Regions from separate parts of the Homo sapiens genome. Here region 1 is linked to region 2. Evidence: promoter capture Hi-C in human tissues and cell types (Jung and others, 2019). All regions are on one chromosome and are shown on one strand. The core of a region is centred on a gene start or on the middle of the fragment in contact, and the rest is flanking DNA. Distances in the headings are between cores, read along the strand shown. Region 1 has its middle 33 kb from the start of SRSF1. Region 2 holds the start of OR4D2 (olfactory receptor family 4 subfamily D member 2).

What was found. The method cuts DNA at HindIII sites, captures the fragments that hold promoters and counts their contacts. A contact is called where the count stands out against the background at its distance.
Region 1: a fragment that was not itself captured here is called in contact with the fragment with the promoter of OR4D2 in region 2 in 2 of the 25 tissues and cell types used here (small bowel and spleen).

The regions. Positions count from the first base shown.
Region 1 is chr17:58,037,503-58,042,111 of GRCh38, forward strand. No RefSeq gene overlaps it. Among named protein-coding and RNA genes, the nearest start is that of SRSF1, 33 kb to the left of the region's middle. The HindIII fragment of the contact is 4,846 bases long and covers 1-4,609 here.
Region 2 is chr17:58,164,759-58,169,470 of GRCh38, forward strand. It overlaps OR4D2 (olfactory receptor family 4 subfamily D member 2), which reads left to right and starts at 2,224. Exons shown (of 2, transcript NM_001004707.4): 1 at 2,224-2,295. The HindIII fragment of the contact is 7,868 bases long and covers 1-4,712 here.

The DNA of each region.
Region 1 (4,609 bases), core at 972-3,471, 130 kb before region 2:
CTTATCTGTAAAGAGAGAATTCAAGGGTGAATGGAGTCCAGGTCCTCTCACCCCCCTGCCCTGCCCCAGTTCTTACATTTTACCTTCACTTTCTCTTAAGCTTTTTCTTTATTTTTATTTTTGAGATGGAGTCTCACTCTGTCATCCCGGTTGGAGTGCAGTGGGCCAATCTCAACTCACTGCAACCTCCATCTCCCAGGCTCAAGCGATTCTCCTGCCTCAGCCTCCCAAGTAGCTGGGACTACAGGCACCTGCCACCACACCCAGCTAATTCTTTCTATTTTTAGTAGAGATAGGGTTTCATGATGTTGGCCAGGCTGGTCTCGAACTCCTGGCCTCAAGTGGTCTGCCCGCCTTGGCCTCCCAAAGTGCTGGGATTACAGGCGTGAGCCACCGTGGCTGGCCCTCTTAAGCCTTTTCTATGGGCCACTCGTAATAACTCATCATACTGCTTGCTGCCTGCATGTTACTTCCTATTTTTGTAGCATGGTGCTGAAGGGTAGATAGGTGGAGGGATACTTTGGAACTCATGTCAAAGGCAAGGAGATAAGGAGAACAAGGATTAGACCCTGGGCCCTTGCATTCTCTGTGTTCTGTCATTATCAAACCTCACTCTCAGGAGCACAAAGCTGAGTGACTGTGAGCACTTGGTGTGGTTATTTATACCTTATCGTACTATGAATCACCTGTGCCAAGCATTGTGCTAAGGGCTTCACATGCATTATTCTATTTAATCCTCATGATAATCCTATTGTTATTTTTCATTTGATAGATAATAAACTGAGGCACAGAGAGGTTACGACTCTAGCCTATGGTCATCCAACTAACAGAACAGCTGTCTAGGATTGGTACCCAGGGAGCCCAGTCCTTAATGCAAATGTTTGCATTTTTGATGCTCCTATGTCCATCTGAATGGGTTTCTCAAATAGACTTATGATTGAAAGGGAGGGTAGGCACTGTGATCCTTGATCCCCAGAGTGGAAGCAGAACAGTTGCCAAGAGCAGATAAGCAGGCAAAATCTCAACGTCTTTGGCAAGGTTCTTGTTATGTGGTAGTCTCTAGCCTTTCCTGAGTGATGAAAATTTAGTCGGAAAATACTCTAGCTAAACCTCTGCCATTTCTCTCTTTTAGAATCCTATTCTTGTGTTAGTGAGGCATGGTGGCACACACCTGTAGTCCCAGGTACTCAGGAGGCTGAGGCAGGAGGATCACCTGAGCCCCGGAGATTGAGGCTGCAGTGAGCCAAGACTGTGCCACTGTGTTCCAGCCTGAGCAACAGAGCAAGACCTTGTCTCTCTTAAAAAAAAAAAAAAATCCATTCTTGTGGCCCCAAATGAACCCAGAAACTTTTGTGTCTAATTAAAGCTTGGACAGCAGAATCTTTAAAATCCTTCAACCATTTGAAGCAGGGCCTCAAGTCAAGCTGTTGCCATAAACAACACAAATTTGGAGACCCAGAATATGCTAAGAAAAAAAAGACAAAGTTTCCTTTGCTGGTGGAGATGCTCAAAAGCAAAGAAAATTTGAGATGCTCAAAAGTAATGCAAAGTTAAATTTGGTGGAGCTGGCACGTCACCTGCACCTGGATAAAAATTCAAGCAGATTCCATAACCTTCTAGGTCTTTCTTAGTCACCTTATGTATGAATACAGTCTCAACTCAGTAATTAAAATGTTTATATAATCATTATATGTCTCTCCTTCATCTTTGCTGAAAATCCGAGGAGAGAAATCACATTTAGAGGGTGACACAAAAGGTAAAACGATCTGTCATGGGATTTAGGTTCACTTGGGTCTGGAATTGCCTTTTAGGTAATTCTAGACCCAAGTGAACCTAAATCCCATGACAGATCGTTTTATCCTTTGTGCTACCCTCTAAATATGATTTCTCTCCTTGGGTTTTCAGCAGAGATGAAGGAGAGACATGTAATGATTATATAAACATTTTAGTTACTGAGTTGAGACTGTATTCAGACATAAGCTGACTGGGGCAGTTATAGAATTTTTGAGCTGCAAAAGAAAACTTCAAAATTATCCAGTCTAATAATTTTATGATAGAAGAAAGGAGACCTAGAGATGGAAGCTGCTTCCTGCAGGTCACAGGTCTGAAGAGTGGAGTGGCAGACTCAGAAGAGGTGATTAGGTCTCACAGTGTCAGTCCACTGCCAGCTTCTCTGGCTCATGTGCCTGAGGCTGGTGGGATTCTGCGCACTGGGGGAAGTGTGTGAACAGGTCAGAGGGAAACTTGAAGCCTGTTCAGGGCCAATAAAGAGAGAGGTGCAGCCACAGAAGAAGGAGGGCTGTATGGGAGAAAAGCCCCAGAGAAGATCAAAAAGGTAGACGAGTTGAGCCCTCCCAGGGCAGGAAGATCAATACTTGAGAAACGGGAAAGGTTAAAACAGGGATTTGGGAATATTAATCTGGTGGTGATGTGCAGGCCTCATTTGAGGAGGAAAATTTTGAGGCAAGGAGGCCGCTGGGGACACTATTGCAGTGGGCAGGAGTGTGCCAGAAGTCCTGGGTTCCACTCTTGGCATTTTCATATTTTACTTCCTAATGTTGCATGTATGAGTGTGTATGTATGTGATGGGGCAGGGAGAAGGGACCTGGGGGGTAGGTCTCAGCTTGAATTCAAACTTGCTGGGACATGTCTGATGAACACGTTGGGTTGCCTTCCAGATGCATGACCTCTGAGCCAACTTGAGTAATTTCCACATGCTCTATTTCCATCCTCCCTTGCCCACTAGCATGCTCCAGCTGAAGTGAGTCTGCTTATACCAGGCAGTCAGATGTACAAGGAGGCTATTGATGGCACACTGCGAACCAAGAAGCAAGTGGCACCAATGGCTCCACACCCCCTTCAACCCAGCTCAGGGTAGAATTTCTCCCATCTGGACAAATGGAGCAGATTCTGTGCTCGTGGCTCCTCTTGCACCAAGGCTCAGCCGCATAATTCTCCGTCTCTCCTGTCCAAGGCAAGCTGGCAGAGTCTCAAGTCTCAGGGCATCCTCAGAATAGGCCAGTGGTGTTCCACCGGCTGCAGACCATGACGAAGGCCTGACCTTGGGTAGCAATTTCCCCAGGCCTGTAGAAGCAGGTCTGCTCCTGCCTGGACACTTCCCTCAAGGCTGTGACGTTGAGAGTGGAGATCTGTCTCTCATTGGCCTATCTCCTCCCAATAGCTGAACATCATCCCAGGAGCGGGGTCTATTTATAAATGGCATAACTGTTTCTAGCTTTCGTAGCAAAGCAATTTAACAAATCAGTACATTCTTTGAACAACTGTTACATTAAACAAGCATAACTCATGGGATGTATTTCTAAAGAAACTCAAGTTTCCTCTTTCATTAACCCTTTAAATTTGGTGGAGCTGGCACGTCACCTGCACCTGGATAAAAATTCAAGCAGATCCCATGACTTTCTAGGTCTTTCTTAGTCACCTTTTGTCTGTTCTCAACTCAGTGATTAAAATGTTTATGTAATCGTTAAGACTCCAAATATGACATAAAATTGAGGCTTCTCCCCTCTCCTTCAGTTCAGGCTGGGCACTTAGAGGAGGGGGCACTTTTGTCCCCCCTCTCTCTTCTTTTAAACTGTGATTTCTGATCCTTGCAGTGGAAAGAAGCAGGAAAGCTTCCATGGGATTTGTCCTGCTGTGAGGATCTGGCAGGGAGGTTTCCTATACTTGGCAAGTATTTAATGGTGACACTTTTGTGGGTGGTTTCGGCCCCCCCCCACCCCCCCAATTGCTGGGGACCTCTCAATTCAGGTGATATGCTTTCCTCAGGCTCTCTGCTTACTCCATCCACATCCCTCATAATCTGGCCACACCTCCAGCTTCTCTTGGCTGAGATCTCTTTGTCCCTCCAGGCTACTCTCTCGAGTAGAGTTCTCTGACCACACCAGGGCAGAACCCTCTCTCGGTCATGGCTCACACCTTTGCCCCAGCAACGCTGTGAGTACAGTTACTTCCCATGTGTAACCCTCATGTGTACCTCCCGTGTGTACTCTGCTGTACCTCTTGCCATTTTGGTTTCTCAGGCTTGACACCTATGATTGAGATAGGGATGGGGTAGGACTCGCAGCACAGCTCTCTCCAAAGAAATTCTCATCTAAATCTTCCCCTCAACTCTTTTGTACATATATATTCTTGGCCACTTACTTTGTAAATCCTGGTCTAGCACTTCACTCTGGAATTTGGTATCTATTTGTGATTCAGCTGAAATTCCTATTTTAACATCTGATTACATTTGATTTATGACACATTTTGAACTCAAATGCTTCTATTTTCTGAATGCTGAGCATTAACATGACATTTACTTTTTTTTTCAAGCATAAGATACCGTCTACCATTTGGATGTATTTCCTAGGCTAGGGCTCCGTGCATCCAAGTCTGGGTTTTAGCGAGAGAGAGGGAACTCTAATTAAAAAGAGAGAGCACCACTGTTTGGTCCAAACTCTGTAAGGCCTTGGGGCATCCCTGTATGATATTCTGACCCTGGAGGGGAGAGAGCTGTGTCTTCCTGTTTTATAGCATCTCCAGGAGTGTGAGTGTGCAAGGACAGACTTCTTCAAGAGCGGATTGAGACATTGCTGGGAAGAGGCAAGAG
Region 2 (4,712 bases), core at 974-3,473:
GTTCTCTGAGAGAGAGAGAGAGGAGAGAGAGAGAGAGAGAGAGAGAGAGAGATAAAGGTATTTATTGCAAGGACTTGGCTTACATGATTGTGAAGCTGGCTAGGCAAGTACGTAATCTGCAGGGCAGGCCATCAGCTGAAGTTGCTGTCTACATGCAGAATTTTCCTCCTTCAGGGAAACCTCAGTTCTTCTCTTTAGTTCTTTCAACTGATTGAATCAGGCACACCCAGATGATCTAGGATAACCTCCTTTACTTAAAGTCAACTGATTATAGACATCAATTTTATCTACAAAATACCTTCACAGCAACACCTAGATTAGAGTTTGATTGAATAACTGGAAACTATAGCCTAGTCAAGTTGACACATAACACAGACCATCACAAAGGGAGAATGATTAATTATCAATGATGCTGGGCTTCCTGCATGAGAATTTACATGATATTTCCTCTACACGTGTCCTGTATCCGTTTAGTGGCTTGACATTATAATAGTAGCTAAGTCTGACAAACATTTATTTTCTTAGAAATGTGATACATATAGAAATAATTTTCTCAGCTCAATTTTCCATGACTGAGTCTTTAGCATAATTACTCCATCCAGGCCATTCATACACTGGCAACCATTATACTGGCTAGTGGTTGCAGTAAAGATGAGCTTTGATGGACATTTTACGACCTACCTGTACTTTTGACAGGGGAAATATATAAACTGGAACCTACCAGGTCTCTATTACTGAAAGCTAAATCGGAATCATAAAGAATTAATCCAGGTAATTCAAAATCACCCATCTGAGAGTCAATAACATTAACAAGGCCTGTGCCCATCCCCACCATCAATCTAGACTACTTTCCTGAGTGGCTCAATTTTAAAGTAGACTAAAGCTCCAAATAATGGGAAGAATTTGTGTTTTTTTTAAATTGACATCTCTTGTATGTGAAAGAACGTCACTTCGTGTTCTTATCCCCAGAGGCAGAGTCTTTATTTTGCCAAGTATAAACATTCGCAATGAAAGAACTCAGACCAACCTGAGAACCTCACGTGGATCAGAGAGCTGTGAGAAATCACACAGATTTTACAGCACATCAAGCTTACAGTGTTGGTTAATTCCAATTTTTAATCAGTTCCTCATAATTAGAAAATATATGGGCTTCTTGTGCCAATCCTTGTATTAAAGGGAGTAATAATTGACATGTAAATAATGCTAGCACTTTGTAGATGGTGTGAGTATAATTGATATGGGTAGTGAATCAACTGTGGGGGTATTGGTTGACAAGATGAAGAACAAGATTTATGGGGTAATTAAGTTTTCATTTTAGTATGCAGACATTTTCCCATCCATGACGTTGCCTATGTAAAGATCAATTCAGTTTAAAAGGAGAAGAAATCAAACCAGTTACCTTGACAACACCATGAAAGAGAACTATCCATTGTGCTGAAGAGCAAGTCGTTGGTTCTCAATGTCTGGTCCCTGGAACAGGTGCATCAGCATTATCTGAGAACTTGCTACAAATGCAAATTCTTGGTCTTACCATTGATGTACTGAATGAGAAATTCTGGGCTGGGAACAGAAGTCTGCCTTTTAACAAGGCCTTCAGGTAATTCTCTCAAGGGTAGGTGTCACTGGTCTAAGAAAGAAATTCTCCTAAAACTCTCAGAGTCTCCTTTTTTTTGAAGACCCTCTTGTCCTTTTGGATCTTGGCCTGAATATTACCCATTCCTCAAATCTCTAAAATTTTCAATGTGCTTGGTACTTTGGGCCCCCCAAGGAAGACCTCTCAAAGAGTGTGTGCTTTTGAGACATTTAGAAACTTTTTAACAACTCCCATTGCTCCCTTGGCCCCAGTGATAATCAGCCCAGCTCAGCTTCCTGAGCCCTGTCCAATAGTTTCTCCCAAAGGATATTCCCCCTTCCCCTGGGGTCTCACCCATGGTATTATTCATGAAGTAAGGGCAGGAGCTAAGAAACTGTGAGGCTGAAGCAAAGGATCTCCAAGAAGATGTACACTGAAGCCCCATTCTGGGCTAAAGGGAGGTGAGAGACCAGTGTTTCCTCAGCTGCACAGAGATCAGCTGTAAGAAAGATCTTGCAACACCTGCTAGAGGGTGGGAGTAATAAGCAAGTGACATAGACCTGACGATAGTAAGTCTAAAGGATGAGCAGAGACTCAAGAAAAACTGCAAGGGGAATGTGATGTTGAAAACGGATGCCTCCGATTACATAGGAAAACAACAAAGCACAGAATTCGCCCTATGAGACTTAGAGGGAGGATGCTCACAGCAAAGGACATCAACGGTGAGGAAAATCACAAGATTCTCGACATTGTCACATAAAACAAAGTCACATTTACCTGCTAATATATTAAGTTGGCAAACATTTCTGAGCAAGTGCTAAATCAGAGATGCTGTCATAGACTCTGGGCTTACTAAGTTATTGAATTTACAATCTAGTTAAGAGAAGCAATAGAAAAAATGATAAATGCTATAATGGAGGTATTTATCAAATGCTATTGGAACACAGAGAAATAAGGAATTAATTCTGCATGAGAGAAATGGGGGGAGGAGTCAAAGGGAAAGTGATATTTCTCTTATCGCCTCTAGGTTGAGAAGGTAGCAAAAGGCATTTCAGGAAACAGGATTTATTACCAAAGATATGAAAATAATGAAATATACTGCCTACATGGAAGCTATGAGTTCTTTGAACAGCAATCAGTTCCCAGGTGACAGTGATACTGATTAGAAAGGTATAGGGAGGCTATTTTTTATAGTCTTGTATGAAATGCTGAGAGAGAGTTGCATGCACGTATGTAGGTATGTTTTTCCACCCTCAGTTTATCCACAGAGCATTTTAGGTGGCTTCTGAGAGTTTGAGTTTTAAGCTGTGAGCAAATCAAATATTATAACAATGAGGAATATGATCACATCTGAGTCAGAGGGGTCTCATGGACAGCTGTGTAGAAGGTGTCCTGGAGTGAGGCCAGGCGCGGTGGCTCATGCCTGTAATCCCAGCACTTTGGGAGGCGGAAGCGGGCGGATCACGAGGTCAGGAGATCGAGACCATCCTGCTAACACAGTGAAACCGTGTTACAAAAAAAATTAGCCGGGCGAGGTGGTGGGCGCCTGTAGTTCCAGCTACGCGGGAGGCTGAGGTAAAAGAATGGCGTGAACCCGGGAGGCGGAGCTTGCAGTGAGTGAGCCGAGATCGCGCCACTCCAGCCTGGGCGACAGCGAGACTCCGTCACAAAAAAAAAAAAAAAAAAAAAAAGAAGGTGTCCTGGAGTGGAAGTAAACTGAAGGAGCAGAATAAGATTAGAATGACCTATAATATTGTAGATAATAGATTGCAATAGGCCAGGTAAGAGAGGGTAAGAGAGATTGAGACAGGGCAGGGGGAGGGGGGAGACCACTGACCCCCTCCCCTGTCACCCTCCATCTTCTTCTTCTTTTTTTTTTGTTTTTGATTTTTTGAGACAGAGTCTCGCTCTGTCACCCAGGCTGGAGTGCAGTGGCATGACCTCCACTCACTGCAGCCTCCAACCAGCTTCAAGCGATTCTCCTGCCTCAGCCTCCCAAGTAGCTGAGATTACAGGTGTGTGCCACCACGCCCGGCTAATTTTTTTGTATTTTTAGTACAGATCCGGAGTTTCACCATGTTGGCCAGGCTGGTCTCAAACTTCTGACTTCAAGTGATCCATCCGCCTCCGCCTCCCAAATTTCTGGGACTACAGGCGTGAGCCACCTCTCCCGGCTCCTCCATCTTCTTCTGTCCCTTTAGTCCCGTTTTCTCCACCTCCCCAGCACTTTTCCACTTCCTTTACCTTCACTTGCTCTATTCCTTCATCTCCCTTTATTCCTTTGTCTATTTCTATTTGTTTTCTTTCAACAACTTCCTTTGTCTCCCACCCTTGGATTCAGTAACATCTTGTAAAATTCCTGTTTCATTCAGAAGCTCTCTGAGTCCCCTTCATACAATATTCATCATCTATTTCTCAATCCAATGACTCTCCCTCCCTTTTCTCCCTCTTGTCTCAGCACCACCACATATGCCTCACTCATAAGGGGCCGCCCACAGTGGAGGGCAGGGGAACTACTGGATGTCTCAGGCATCCAGCTGCATCCAGTGTCTTCCTTGTGCTGAACTTGTGCACCTGATAGCTATTCACCCATGCAGCAGTCAACACCAAGAGCTTTTTAAGTTAACTGTCATTAAGAATGGGTACTGCAGGGCACAAATAAATTGTGAGATCCAGATATAGGCTTTGGACTTAATAGTTGAATTGTGGAGGGAAAATATAGACAAGGAAAATCCATTAACACGATGATGTATTAAATGTCATGTGAAAAATAATTGGCAAAGAATCTTATTACAGAGTGGAAGAGAGGATATCTTTAGATTAAGAGAATTCACACAGGTGAGTAATTGCCATTGATTATTCCATACACTGTTTTAGGAACTTTATATCTATCATTCTACTTAAGTCCTCAGAAAATTCTACAAAGCAGGTATTTTTATTTCTACCTTACAAATTCCCGTGAAAACTGAGGCCCAGAAAGATTAAGTAAGTTACTCATGGTCAAATCACAATGAAATGAAAGACCTGAAATTTGACTTCAGATGTATCTGACTCCAAGTGTCTTCCCACCACTATATGAATCTTTGAAAGGCAGGTTGTATATACTTCTGGATGGCGTTAAGATTTCAGGAATGTATAT